Linked DNA regions of Homo sapiens: region 2 is linked to region 1. Evidence: promoter capture Hi-C in human tissues and cell types (Jung and others, 2019). All regions are on one chromosome and are shown on one strand. Each heading gives the region's core, a stretch centred on a gene start or on the middle of the fragment in contact. The rest is flanking DNA. Distances are from core to core; before and after follow the strand shown.

The links. Contacts are between HindIII fragments. The study calls those that stand out against the background at their distance.
Region 2: a contact is called between a fragment that was not itself captured here and the fragment with the promoter of CNTN1 in region 1, in 6 of the 25 tissues and cell types used here (H1 embryonic stem cells, aorta, bladder and 3 more).

What each region holds. Positions count from the first base shown.
Region 1 is chr12:40,689,509-40,695,822 of GRCh38, reverse strand. It overlaps CNTN1 (contactin 1), which reads right to left and starts at 3,384. Exons shown (of 24, transcript NM_001843.4): 1 at 3,231-3,384. The HindIII fragment of the contact is 18,580 bases long and covers 1-5,635 here.
Region 2 is chr12:40,648,514-40,654,827 of GRCh38, reverse strand. No RefSeq gene overlaps it. Among named protein-coding and RNA genes, the nearest start is that of CNTN1, 41 kb to the left of the region's middle. The HindIII fragment of the contact is 4,716 bases long and covers 1,432-6,147 here.

The DNA of each region.
Region 1 (6,314 bases), core at 2,135-4,634:
AAGCTAGAAGTAGAAAGAGAAGATAAGAGGGAGACAAAGAAAGGAAAGTTAGAAAAATTAAGAAAAAAGTACGCTATCAGAGCATTGTGGTGTCAAGGAGCAAAATTTCAAGAAGATGGACAATATGGAAAATAGAAGGTCAGAAGAGAACAATCGATAATACATCAATAAAAAGAAAACAAACATTGGAATTGAGGAGGAGCTTACTGGTGAGTTAGAATAAGTTGTGGGATATGATAGAGACCATGGCCAATTTACATGTAGAAATAGATGGAAATTGGAGAATTTGTTGATTTTTTTTGAAATAAGGCAATTACAGGACATATTTTGTATACAGAAATATAAATTGTCTATTTCAGCTCTTCCTAGTTGGTCTCAAGGGACACAAGATACAAGAGAATACATAGAACCAGTACATAGTCATAATCCCTACTGTAGAACCGAGTCATTCTATGAAAAGATATAGAAACACCTTATGTCATCCATTACTCCTCATGGAGAGGATCATAAAGCCAGAGGAAGTTTCCTCCCAAGGCATAGCCTTCTACCAAAAAAATATCCCCAAATCATTGCTGCACCCATCCAGCTTCTTAGGATGATGCTTCCTGAACAAGAATCTTTAAGGCTACTTATTATAGGACTGTGTTCAATGTGGTGGGGTATACAAAAAGATTATAAGTGTAGTCTTTTTCTGCAAAGTACTTCCTAATTAGAAAACAAATCAGACATACAAATGAGGATTAAGCAACAAAATAAGACTAAGTATGATTAAGTTCCCAAGTGAAAATAGTCTACTAGAGATTCTGAAGAGGAGTGATCGTTTTGTTAGAACCATGAATTTTAAAATGCATTTAGTTGATACATACCTATGTATTGTTATTATTACCAGTAGCCCTGTTTATTAATGACCCACTATGCGCCCATCCCCATGATAGAAACATGCATGCTTTTTATGGCCCTCATAGCAACCTGAAATTTCAATGCTATAAAATTCCTTTTGAAGACAAGAAAACAGATTCTCAGAGTTTAATTATCTTGCTCCAAATCAGATCATCAGGAAGTTGCAGAGCAAAATTAAAAGCCAGCTCGCACTGCCTATGATGGTAACTTGGTAGATTAAATAATTTATCTTCAAAATGACTTGGCAAGTTAGAATTTTGTTCTTAAAACACAGAATTAAATTTTGTAGGGATACATGTCAGACTAGAACCGAATAAACTTGGTTTATATTGTTCCTGGTATCAACATTAACCACATTTTGTTGCCAGGACCAAAAATCCTGGGAAGCTAAAAAGTATTCTATTTGAGGGGAAACTGCTATGCAGTATAATTACACGGCAGGTTGTTGGAATATTAAAGTTTTCAGAAGACTTTCAACCAATCACTTGTGTCTTCTGAATCTTAGTTTCTTCATCTGTGAAAATGGAAAGGTTGTCATCAGGAATAAGTAATTTCAGGGAATGGCAAAGATAAATGCACATACATCAATCTATAAAAGAAAGTTCACATAGTACAAATAGATGTGATATGAAAAAGCAGTACAAATTTAAATATCAGGTCCACATGTAAAATCTGTACAAAGAAATACCTCACATCTACCCCCGCAAGGGTTCTAGCAGTTCCTTAGTCCTGGAAAGTGGGTGGATCCATTCCCAGATCCCCAAATGCTGTTAGCCATAAGTTACCACTGAAATAAATTTACTACCAAATAACCAAACCATTATGCCGAGTCTAATAAAATATCCCAGATACGGCATGTATTAATTTGATTTGCGTTACACTTCGGGCTGGTAAGGTTCATATGTACACTTAGAAACCGAAAAATGCGGCGAAATGGATGAAGATTATATTGGCACTCTAAGAATGTTTGCAAAATACTGAAATATTGAAAACATGAAATATGACATATTGAAAACATGAAATATGAAATATTGATCTTTACGTGAGTTACAAAAACATTATTTCACGCAGGGTTTCAGCAGTCTGAATGCTTCTTCTCCGGCTTTTCCCCCAATGGAGAATTGGATTCCCTTTTGCCCCGCCCACTCAGTGCTTCCAGATTGCTTGAGAAGGCCAAGGCAGCCGGCTCAGCAGCAGGGAAGCCGGGCTGGGTATGCAGGAGCTATATATAGCTCCACCTTGGAGATGTGCACACACAAGCACACGTACGAATACCCATGCCCGGTTTGGCATGAAAATAAATAAATAAATAAGGAAAGGTCGCAGCTATCCGCTTTCCCTCTTTCCCATCATCCCAATTTTTCAGGAATTTTCAAAGCAGGGTGTCATCAGTCCCAGAGGGTGATGCAGCGTCGGATCTCTCTGCAATTCTTCTGCCTACTGCTCCCAGCAATCTGACTCCTGCAGGAACCGGCACTGGGCCAACACCTACTACCCAGATGCGGTCACCTAGGGAGGCAGCCTCGCAGCCGCTCGGAGCCCATCCGGGCACAATCACTTGACTCCCTGGAAATCCCTGAAGCCAAATCCACCTTTCAGAAACTAGGTGTGAAGGTGGTTCCCGTAGACAGCGCCAGGCTAGGAGGGAAGGGGCCGTGGCTCCGCGGTCTCTCCCTCCCACCTGCCGCAGATCGTGGAGAAGGGCCGGTGCCTTCTCAACGGAGACGTAATTAATCGGAACGTGCCCTTCGAGTTGCAGGGATTCTTCCCCACCCCCATCTCCTGAAGGGAGCTAGATCTTAACAGAGGGGTCAGGGGACAAACAAGTCGCTTCCTCCCCTCTCCGCAACCGCTCCCAGGTTTTCCGGGATGCGCTAGCCAGGCGCCCAGGTGGGATGGGAAAGATGAGCAGGTGCGGGCCGGCGTCGGGAGAAAAAGACCTGCAGGCCCCGGGCTGCCGACCTCTCTGCTTCCCCACCCCTCCCCTGCCGAGGCGATATGGCATCCCTGGGGCGAGTTCCCGGCGCTGGCGGCGGCAGCCTCCGAAAGGAAAGTTGACGAGACACAGACCCCGAGCTCGGAGCCCTCTTCTAGGGCACTGCCGTCCTGCCTTGCCCGGCACCCCAGGGCTCCGGCATCCCGCACCCCTGCTTCCCCGCACCCCAGCCACCTCCGCCCCAGTCCTTCCCGCGCCGCACGGCGAGAGCTGCAGGGACCACAGGAGATTTGGGGGTGACGAGGGCTGGGCGGGGCTGGGGGAAGGGAAGCAACAGCATGGAAATGCGCATTCTTTATTTTATCTGCAAAGAAGGAAAAGTCCAGCTTCCTACCTGTTCCCTGCTCCTGCTCGCCTCGGTGCGGCACAGCTGGACCATACCCTACAGGTTTCCCACTTCCGCTGCAAACACCTGGGAGCGCATCTCCCCACCGGCGCCCCTCCTCGCCTCGGCGGAGCCCACCCTGGCTACTTGACAGCAGAAGCCCGGCCTTTTAGGGCGGTTATTGGGGCAGCAGGGAAAGTGGGGCGGGGACCACAGGGAAACCCGCTTCTCTGATTGGACAACAGGGATATCACTCTCACCCCCAGGACCAGCGCAGGCTGCAGACTTGGGTAGCTGCTAAACCCAACTGCAAAGGGTCTCTGCAGTGCCTGAAACCCAAACCTGCTGCTACCGGATCAAGGACCCTTGCTGGAGAGAAACTGGTTTGATGACTTGTCATTTGGGGCCCCAAGAGGGAGGGAGGGTCCAGGCATAACTAGACACCCAGCACTTTCCTGAAGCTTCCCTGAAGGGACCATCTGCTCCGGGAGATTTGTCAGGCGAAAATACCAAGCCAGCGCCTCATAGAGAAGAATGAGCTTCGATTAGGAAATAATAAGATACTTATGTGGGAAAAAATACACACACAGAAAGGAAAATAAAACGATGTGAGGTTTTTTTTTAAAGTTTCCATTTTTGTCCAGATGTAACATGGCAGTTTTTCTTGAGAAAAGACGGAATTGCTTAGTCTGTAATGCAGAAGACCCCCTAATATTCCCTGGTAGAAACAGTGTTTTAAACGGGAAAGCACTGCATAATAACCTCTCAAAAAAAAAAAAAGGGTAAAAGAAATTAAGGCCAAACTGCATGAGAGATTTGCTTTGGGGCAGTTCAGTTTGTGGCAAAAGTCTTAAAATAATCACCATTAGACTGATTGATAATTAAGTGATCTGTTACTTTTCTATTGATAGTAGTTTATCATTTCTTTAGTACTCAGACACTGAGAGGATGTTTATGCCCCCAAACCTAAGTGATCCCAAGCCTGCCTTTTATGTGAAGGGAACAGGGTAAAATAACTTTGTGTCCAGTTGCCATCTCTGCCATTTATTCAGGTGGAATCTGGAAATTTTGGAATTCAAGAGACTCCTTAAATGAAGGAACGTGCTAGAACTACCACGTGTAAAACTGGGAGTGTAGGGTGTCTTAGTATATAGTACCATGTGAGGAATCAAGTTGCCTTCTGCCTGCAAATAGCCACATTCTTCTTCTATCTGAATTAAGTAGCCATCTTAAGTGCTGAGCATAAGACACAACTCTCATTCTCACAGAGCTTCAAAGAGCTTATGACAGGCTTGGGACACTGGACAACTGTTAGAGAAGATGACATTGCTATTAATAAATATAGACTCTACTTAGTGGTTACGGTTGTTATTACTATCATCAGGTAAGGCTCTTCATAATGTTTTCTTCATAATACTGAAGGAATCCGATTAATGCATTTGAAGGTGGGGGCCGGGCGAGGTGGCTCATGCCTGTAATCCCAGCACTTTGGCAGGCGAGGCAGGCGGATCACAAGGTCAGGAGATCGAGACCATCCTGGCTAACACGGTGAAACCTCGTCTCTACTCAAAAAAAAAAAAAAAAAAAAAAATACAAAAAATACAAAAAATTAGCCGGGCATGGTGTTGGGCGCCTGCAGTCCCAGCTACTCAGAAAGCTGAGGCAGGAGAATGGCGTGAACCCAGGAGGCGGAGTTTGCAGTGAGCGGAGATTGCGCCACCGCACTCCAGCCTGGGCGACAGAGCGAGACTCCGCCTCAAAAAATAAAATAAAATAAAATAAAATAAAATAAAATAAAATAAAATAAAATAAAATAAAATAAAATAAAATAATAAAATAAAATAAAATAATGCATTTGAAGGTGGGAAGGGACCCTGGAGAAAATTTACAGTGAACAAATAGATATTATTTGTGTGGTGACAACCATCTTAACACTGAATGGAAATGACTAAATATGCCGTGGCAAAATTTCAGAACCCCTGTGTCATTTCTTACACAATACTCCTATTAGTCATGCACCTCTGTCCCAGGTACTCACACCAGTTATTCCATTGGATTGGCCAAATCATTCATGAATTACTGAGTACTTTTTCAATGCCATACCCTGTGTTAGGTGCTACAGAACTAAAGCAGAATAATGTATTGGACACATTAAAGATGATCTCAGGAAGCAATTACAATAGTAATATTTCTAAGGAATGTGTGTTTGCAACACGAACATCTTTTGATTCCTAAGCATAAATTATTTTGAGTCAAAATGAGCTTCAACATACTCTCCTCTAGAGGTAATCAGAGGAGAAGAAAAAGTATCAAAGAAAATACCTAAATATTGAAGACAACACAAGAATTGAAATTGGTAATGAAAAGAAAACTAAAGACATCTCTGCTATCTGCGTTCTTTCATTGCTTCACTCATTCATTCCTTCAACAAATATTACTATTATAAATGTGATGGTGAATAAAATAGGCAAGCTCTCATGGAACACATTCTTTATTCTTCAAGCAGACAATGTTACTTTGTGCATTTACTGTGATCTAATTAGCAGCTTTGTGTGTACATGCAAACACAACTCTGGAACAGTATTAAGATAATTTCTCTCTGGATCAGGCATCTCACACATTTTCAAGTAAAACAGAGCATTTTCAGGTTATTGCTTATTATCTCAAAGAGAAAAACCTGTACATATGTTCCCACAATACAAATGAATATGTCAAAGGTATCTGCTGCTGCAGAACATTTTAGATTTTCCAAATCACTTTCAGATACAATTTCCCTCTGTGTTCTAAAATAAGCAGGAGAGTCATCATTAGTCGCATTTCACCATGAGGAAATTGAGTAACCAAAGAGAAATGTGGTCCTTCAAAAACAAAGGCAGTAAACTATTATAGGTGGGTATATAATGCTTGGCATATTGCAGACATCTAATATGTATTTGCTGACAAATATATGGTTTTGAAAATATGAAAGTTTGAAGGATCTTAGAAAGTATTGAACTCCTTGTAATGCCAGCACTTTGGGAGGCCGAGGCAGGCAGATCATCGGAGGTTGGGAGTTCGAGACCAGCCTGACCAACATGAAGAAACCCAGTGTCT
Region 2 (6,314 bases), core at 2,540-5,039, 41 kb after region 1:
TTCACCCATTTCTTTTAAAATGTTTTACTGTGGCTACTAGAAAATTCAGATTACATATAAGGTTCACGTTGTATTTCTGTTGGACAGATCTGGTAGGCTGGTAAGTCAGGGCTCTTACATGACTTTAAAAGAGCACCGAACTCTCTTGTTGTTAAATTTTGGATAGTTTTTATTACCAAAAAAAAGAAAGAAAATTGAAGCATCTCTGTTATACAAGTATGTTAAAATAGATTCAAAAATAAAAAGCTCTGCCCTTGATTTGCTGAGTGCCCTTGAGCAAGCATTGGTCTGTCTGTGATGGGAGAAGATTGTGTCAGAACGTTTGTAAGGACACTTCAAAGGCAAGCTTCATATGGCATTTTCTGCTCCTTTACTGTGAGCACAGGCCTAGTTATAATGTTAGACTTTGAGGATGAAAGCCAAAATCCAGTCTAGGTGAAGTGGCTCATGCCTGTAATCCCAGCACTTTGGGAGGCCGAGGCAGGTGGATCGCCTGAGGTCAGGAGTTTGAGACCAGCCTGGCCAACATAGTGAAACCCTGTCTCTACTAAAAATACAAAAAATTAGCTTGGCGTGGTGGCAGGCGCCTGTAATCCCAGCTACTAGGGAGGCTGAGGCAGGAGAATTGCTTGAACTCAGGAGGCAGAGGTTGCAGTGAGCGAAGATCATGCCATTGCACTCCAGCCTGGGCAACAAGAGTGAAACTCCATCTCAAAAAAAAAAAAAAAATCCATACCATCAGGTAATATATAAATCAAGGTTGACTTCTTCACAAACCAAGCAAATTACCAGGAAACCTTAGCTTGCTTTCATTTTCTTTTTCTTTTGCCTAAGACCTTTAATATTTGTAGCTTGGTGATCATTCTAAGAAAATACCTCCTCAGCAAACAAGTCAGATTAGTTAATCTTATTATTATCCCAATGTATTTATTCAACAATATTTATTGAAGTTCACTCTGAGACAGATATTACTGTAGGCATGAGGGACATTTCAAAGAACAGGGAAAGCTTGCTGCCCTCATAGAGTTTATAGTCTAGTGAAAGGAGATTGCCAATAAAAAATAATAAGCAAAACAAATGAAGAAATAAGCACATGATAGAGTAGGGAGGGCTGGGGACAGTCATGAGGTATTAAGGCTTCTTAATACTAGGTCAGGGAGGCTTTGCCAGTGAAGGCACACATGGGCAATGACCTGGAGGAAGTGAGGAGGCACACATGGACAATGACCTGGAGGAAGTGAGGAAGGGAGCCGTAGAACTCAGGGTAAACATTTAGGCAGAAGAAACTGCATACAAAACCCCTGAAGCCAGCAGCAAGGCTGATGTAGTTGAAGCAGAATAAGCCATGAGTGGGGAATTGGTAGGAGACAAAGTTGAAAAGGTTGGGAAGAGAGGAAAGCATTTTGTAGACACAGGATTTTTGTCTATTACTTGGCATGAGCTAGGAAGTCATTGGATAGTATTGGTTAGAAATGTAACAGCACCCAACCTTCCATTTTCAAAAGAGCATTCTAGCTACTGTATAGTGAATAGACTGAATAGATTGAAACAAGTGTAGAAGTAGAAGGACCAGTTAACAGCTTGTAGATATAATACACAAACAAGATTACAGTGGCTTGGACAGTGGTGATAGTAGTAGAGATAGCTAGACATAGTCAGATTTTAGATATATTTTGAACATAGATCAAGTAGGATTAGTAATAGGTTGAATATGGTAGAAGAGAAAGGGAAAGGGAATGTTTTAACCAGAGCAATGAAAAAATGGAATTACCACTTACTGACATGGGGTGGCCTATAGGAGAAGCAGGTTGGGGCAGGAATGTAGAAAATCAGTATTTGGTCTGGACATGTAAGCTTGAGTTACATATTATACTTGTAAGTGGAAATGTCAACTATACGGTTGAGTATATGAGTCTGGAGTTCAGCCGAGACCCCTGGGCTAGAAGTATAAGTTTGGAAGTGAGGGCATGTTGAAAGCCATGAGACTAGTTGCGCTCACCTAGGGAGTGAAGGAAGACATCTGAGTACTGTGTCATAGGGCCCTCCAATTTAGAGTTAGGAGAGATGAATAGAAACCAGCAAAGAAGATTAGGAAGAAATAGCTAAGGAAGAAGGGCACTGAGAGAGGGAGAGTGAGATAGAGAGAGAAATATGCCAGAAGTCAAGTGAAGAAAGTGGAAATAAGGAAATGATCACTCTATTAAATATTAGATGAGAACAGAGAATTGACCATTGCACTTGGCAATTACAGGTCATTGGAGACCTTGACAAGAGCTGTTTCAGTGAATTAAAAGCCTGATTGTCATGGGTACTGAAAAATATTAGAAGAGAGGAATAGAGATAGCAAACATAGATAACATTATCAAAAAATTTACTGGAACAGAGGACTGGGAAATGGGGCAGCAACAAGAAAGGTGTAGATAAGAGGTTTTATAGCATATTGGTATGATATTGAGAATGATATAGTAAAGAGGGGAAATTGATGATGCCACAGAGAATAGACAGTTGCTAAACTAATGTATTTGAATTGGCATGAAGGGTTGGGAGCTAGTGCCCAAATGAAGGGATTGACCATAGATGAGTTGGTGGTTATTCTATCTACGGGTGATGGGGGAAAGGCAAATATATTAATAAGTCAGTAGAAGTGGTTTTGGGAGCATATGGAATTGTATCCTTTGGTTTCTTTGATTTTCTATAGAGGAAGAAAGGCCAGCTATTCTGATTGGAAAGCGAGGAGGAGGTACTGGTGGTTGAAGGAGAGAGATGGCATAAGATGGCCATCTGTGAAGGTGTAAGAGAGAATGTACTAGGAAAATATGGTGGGTGAATCTACTGGGGAACATTGAGGGCCCATTTGAGAATGAGAGTCACAATATTGGAAGGTAAAGGGGACAAGAAATTGCAAGAGAATGGTTGAATCAATATACTGCAGCACTGTCATTAGGTTCATATTGATAGTGGAAGGAAGCAGACAAATGCCTAGGCAGATAGGAGTGGGACCCCTATGAAACCCCAACTCCAAACCAAAGACAGTTTAAAGCCTGAAAGCCAAGCTATAATTCAAATCCAGGGAAAAGATTGAGAACCTGTCTTCCCTTTTGGCATGCTTTCCTCTGATTGATCCCCAGCCTTCACCTATTTTACATATACCTACCCTTCCCTAATTGTTTTTTCACACTGCCATGCCCACCTTTGAGTGCTGCCTTTGTTTTTAACCTTTTTTGCATACTCACAAACCAATCAGGATGCACTCCCCTATTATGAGCCCATCAAAGTTCTGGACTCAGCCACACTGGGAGAGAAACACCCAACTCCAGGTGGCTGACCACCCTCACGACCCTTCTTGGCTAAAAGCTGTTTCATCCTCAACAAAATTCTTCTCTGCCCTCCTCACCCTTCAACTGTCAGAATATCCTCATTATTCTTGGACATGGGACAAGAACTCAGGAACTGCTGAACGTGGGTATGAGCTATAGCACAGGTGGACTGGAGCATGCTTGGCCCAGCTGCAGGCTCAGCTGGTGCACAAGCCAGGCACAGCCTGGGTGGGTTGAGTGGGCAGCTGCCTCCAGTGGCAGGGAGCATGGCCGAGTGAGGCCCAGGCAGGGGCATCACTGGCTGGAGGTCCCTGGCTTACAAAGTAACTAAGAAAACTCCTGTGTCAATATTGCCCACAGCATCTCAACTTTCATGAAGCCCCCAGGGATTTACCCCAAATGAAGGGAATCGCCTAAGATCCTGGACATTGATTCCAAAGTTTTCTTGTAGGGCAGTGTGACCCAAACCAGAAAACACAGCAGGACATAGCATACACGTTTAGCAAGAGGCAGATCCAAATAAGTTGCCAAGGTGGAACCAATAACGGGAGGATACAAGAGACAGAAGGAGATTGAAGTGACCTCAATAAAAAGAGATGGAGCAGCAGGAAGAAAGTCTGCTTGGTAACTAAGAGTGGAGCTTTGAAGGGCTGCAACTGGGCAAAGAAAACAAAATCAGAGAAAGCAGTATAGCAGATGGTTAAAATCCTAGGGTGCAAAGTCAGTTATATCTGGTCCAGGAATTGGTGGTTAACTATTAAAAAAAAAGTATTTCTCAACAATGACATCCTTTCCTCTCTGAGGTAAAACCACTTTTGAAAAAAGTATATCAGTGAGAAAATTATGACACTGAAAGAGATCTGAGCTAGTCCACCCCTATCTTGCCTTTCCTTTAATTATTCCTGGGCTATTGGGCAAAGCTAACTTTGGAAGACATTCAGGCTATAGTTTAAATGATAATGGGCTTTGCCCTGAAACTCAACCACTTTTGTAAAGCTAATGGGAGGCCATCAGACTGGGGTAGGAGAGGAGCATGAGTCTTGCTAAGGCAGAGACATAAATGATTGTCAGCCTTTATTCTGGAGGTTATAAGATAATGCAACTTCCCTAATTACTCCTGCAAATAACATCACTATCATAGAACCAAAGATGGGCCTTTTGAGATATCTTTTCAGGAATTTTTGCATGTCTGAAACTCATGGCTCTACCTGAACCTGCCAGCCCTACTACTGTGGCCCCACCCAGAAGCTATTCCGCCCACAGGAGGACAGCTTTGACTCCCTGTGATTTCATCTTTGCCCCAACCAATCAGCATCAAGCACCTGTTACCTGGCTACCCCTATAAATTTCCCCAAACTGCCTTTGAAAAACCCCTAATCCTAGAGCTTTGGATGTGATGATTTGAGTACTAATTCCATCTCCCATGTGGTTTGGCTGACCTCTTGTCTGTTAAACTCTTTCTTTACTGCAATGCCTGTCTTTATTCAGCAGGCAGGGAGAATCCCTTGAGTGGTTACAGAAGCTAAACTATTCTTTTCTAAAAGGAAGATCACTACCCCTGACTAAGAAAACAGCAGCCATCACAGAATGATTTCCCAATCAGTACATTCTAATAGTTTGATGGACTTTGAAGGCTGTGGATTGTCTCCACTGATGTCCATGTTGCAGATTCCATAGTTAAAACACATTATACATGGACTGGGGCCAAAAACACTGAGGTTTCTTTGGAGATTCAAATTTTGATAGAAAGATTACCACCTCTAGGAATTAAATCCACTTCACTGGGCAAAGATTAGTCATTTAAATGTGAGAAGATTAATATTTATGATTTCCAATGATAGTGATAAAATGGAGAATGAATGAGTGTAACAGTCAAAATGATTTTTAATCCTGGTTTCAGTTTGCTTTATTTAATTTTTATGCATCTCAGCTTTCTCTTCTACATAAATGGGGTAATAATCTTTATCTATAAAGTTATGTTAAAAATTAGATCCTGTGACATACATGAAAGCACCTATCACAGTACCCAGAGCTCAGTGAGTGCTCTGAAAACGGTTTGTGTTCTTTGCTTTCCTTTTCTTTTTACTCCTTCCCTCCTTCCCTTGTTCTCAAACTATCCCTTCCCTTTACCTCCTTTTCTTCCTTTCCTTTTTCAGACACTAGATCTCATGATCAAAATGTCTATATGTTGTATATCCAGGAACACTGATTTATTTATATTATTTTTCCCTTTCCCCCGACCTTTCAGTAGAAAGTGTGAAAAATGTCTAAATTCATATACTGATAGGAAACATGAGCCTACTATTTTTCACACAATTCCATTGCTTTGTTTCCACTTGCATTTGACTTTTCTTAATCAAATTTGTTTTGTTTTATCTCTGCCCCTGTGAATTAGTATGACCTCCCAGAAAGTTCTCCATTGACCCAATTTTTGTGATTGTTGTTTCAAAGTGAGAGGGTGAAGTAAGGATACATTTTCTACAATATATCAGGTACTTTCTTGTAAGATGACAGAAGCTTTTTTTTTTTTTTTGATAGGCTATTACATTTTTGTATATTGCTTTATAAATATAAGATCTTGTTTATCTCAAAATATCTCAAGTCTGAAAAAAAAAGCTTCCTTTAGTAGCTACCTTGAAAGTAAATTGTCTCTCCTTCTTGTCTACATAATGCATGTTGCTTTTGTTTGGACAAAAAGTTCTTGAACTCTTAACAGCCACATCAGCTTTCTCATCAGCCTGGCCTTCCATCATCTCAGAAATACCACAAGGTTGTGACACTACCTCTCACAGCAGGAAGAGTAATGGCCTTTGTTGTCGCTTCTTATCTAAATTGTCAAATTCTCTTTGTTGAAAATCTTCCAGTAGCCTGTACTTAGCTTGATTCAAATAATTTTATTCAAAATTCTAGACCATCTCAGATTTAATAAAATATTTTATAATATTATTATCTATGGTTTAGAATGTTTATTTTAATTTAAAAATGTGGATAAAAAGC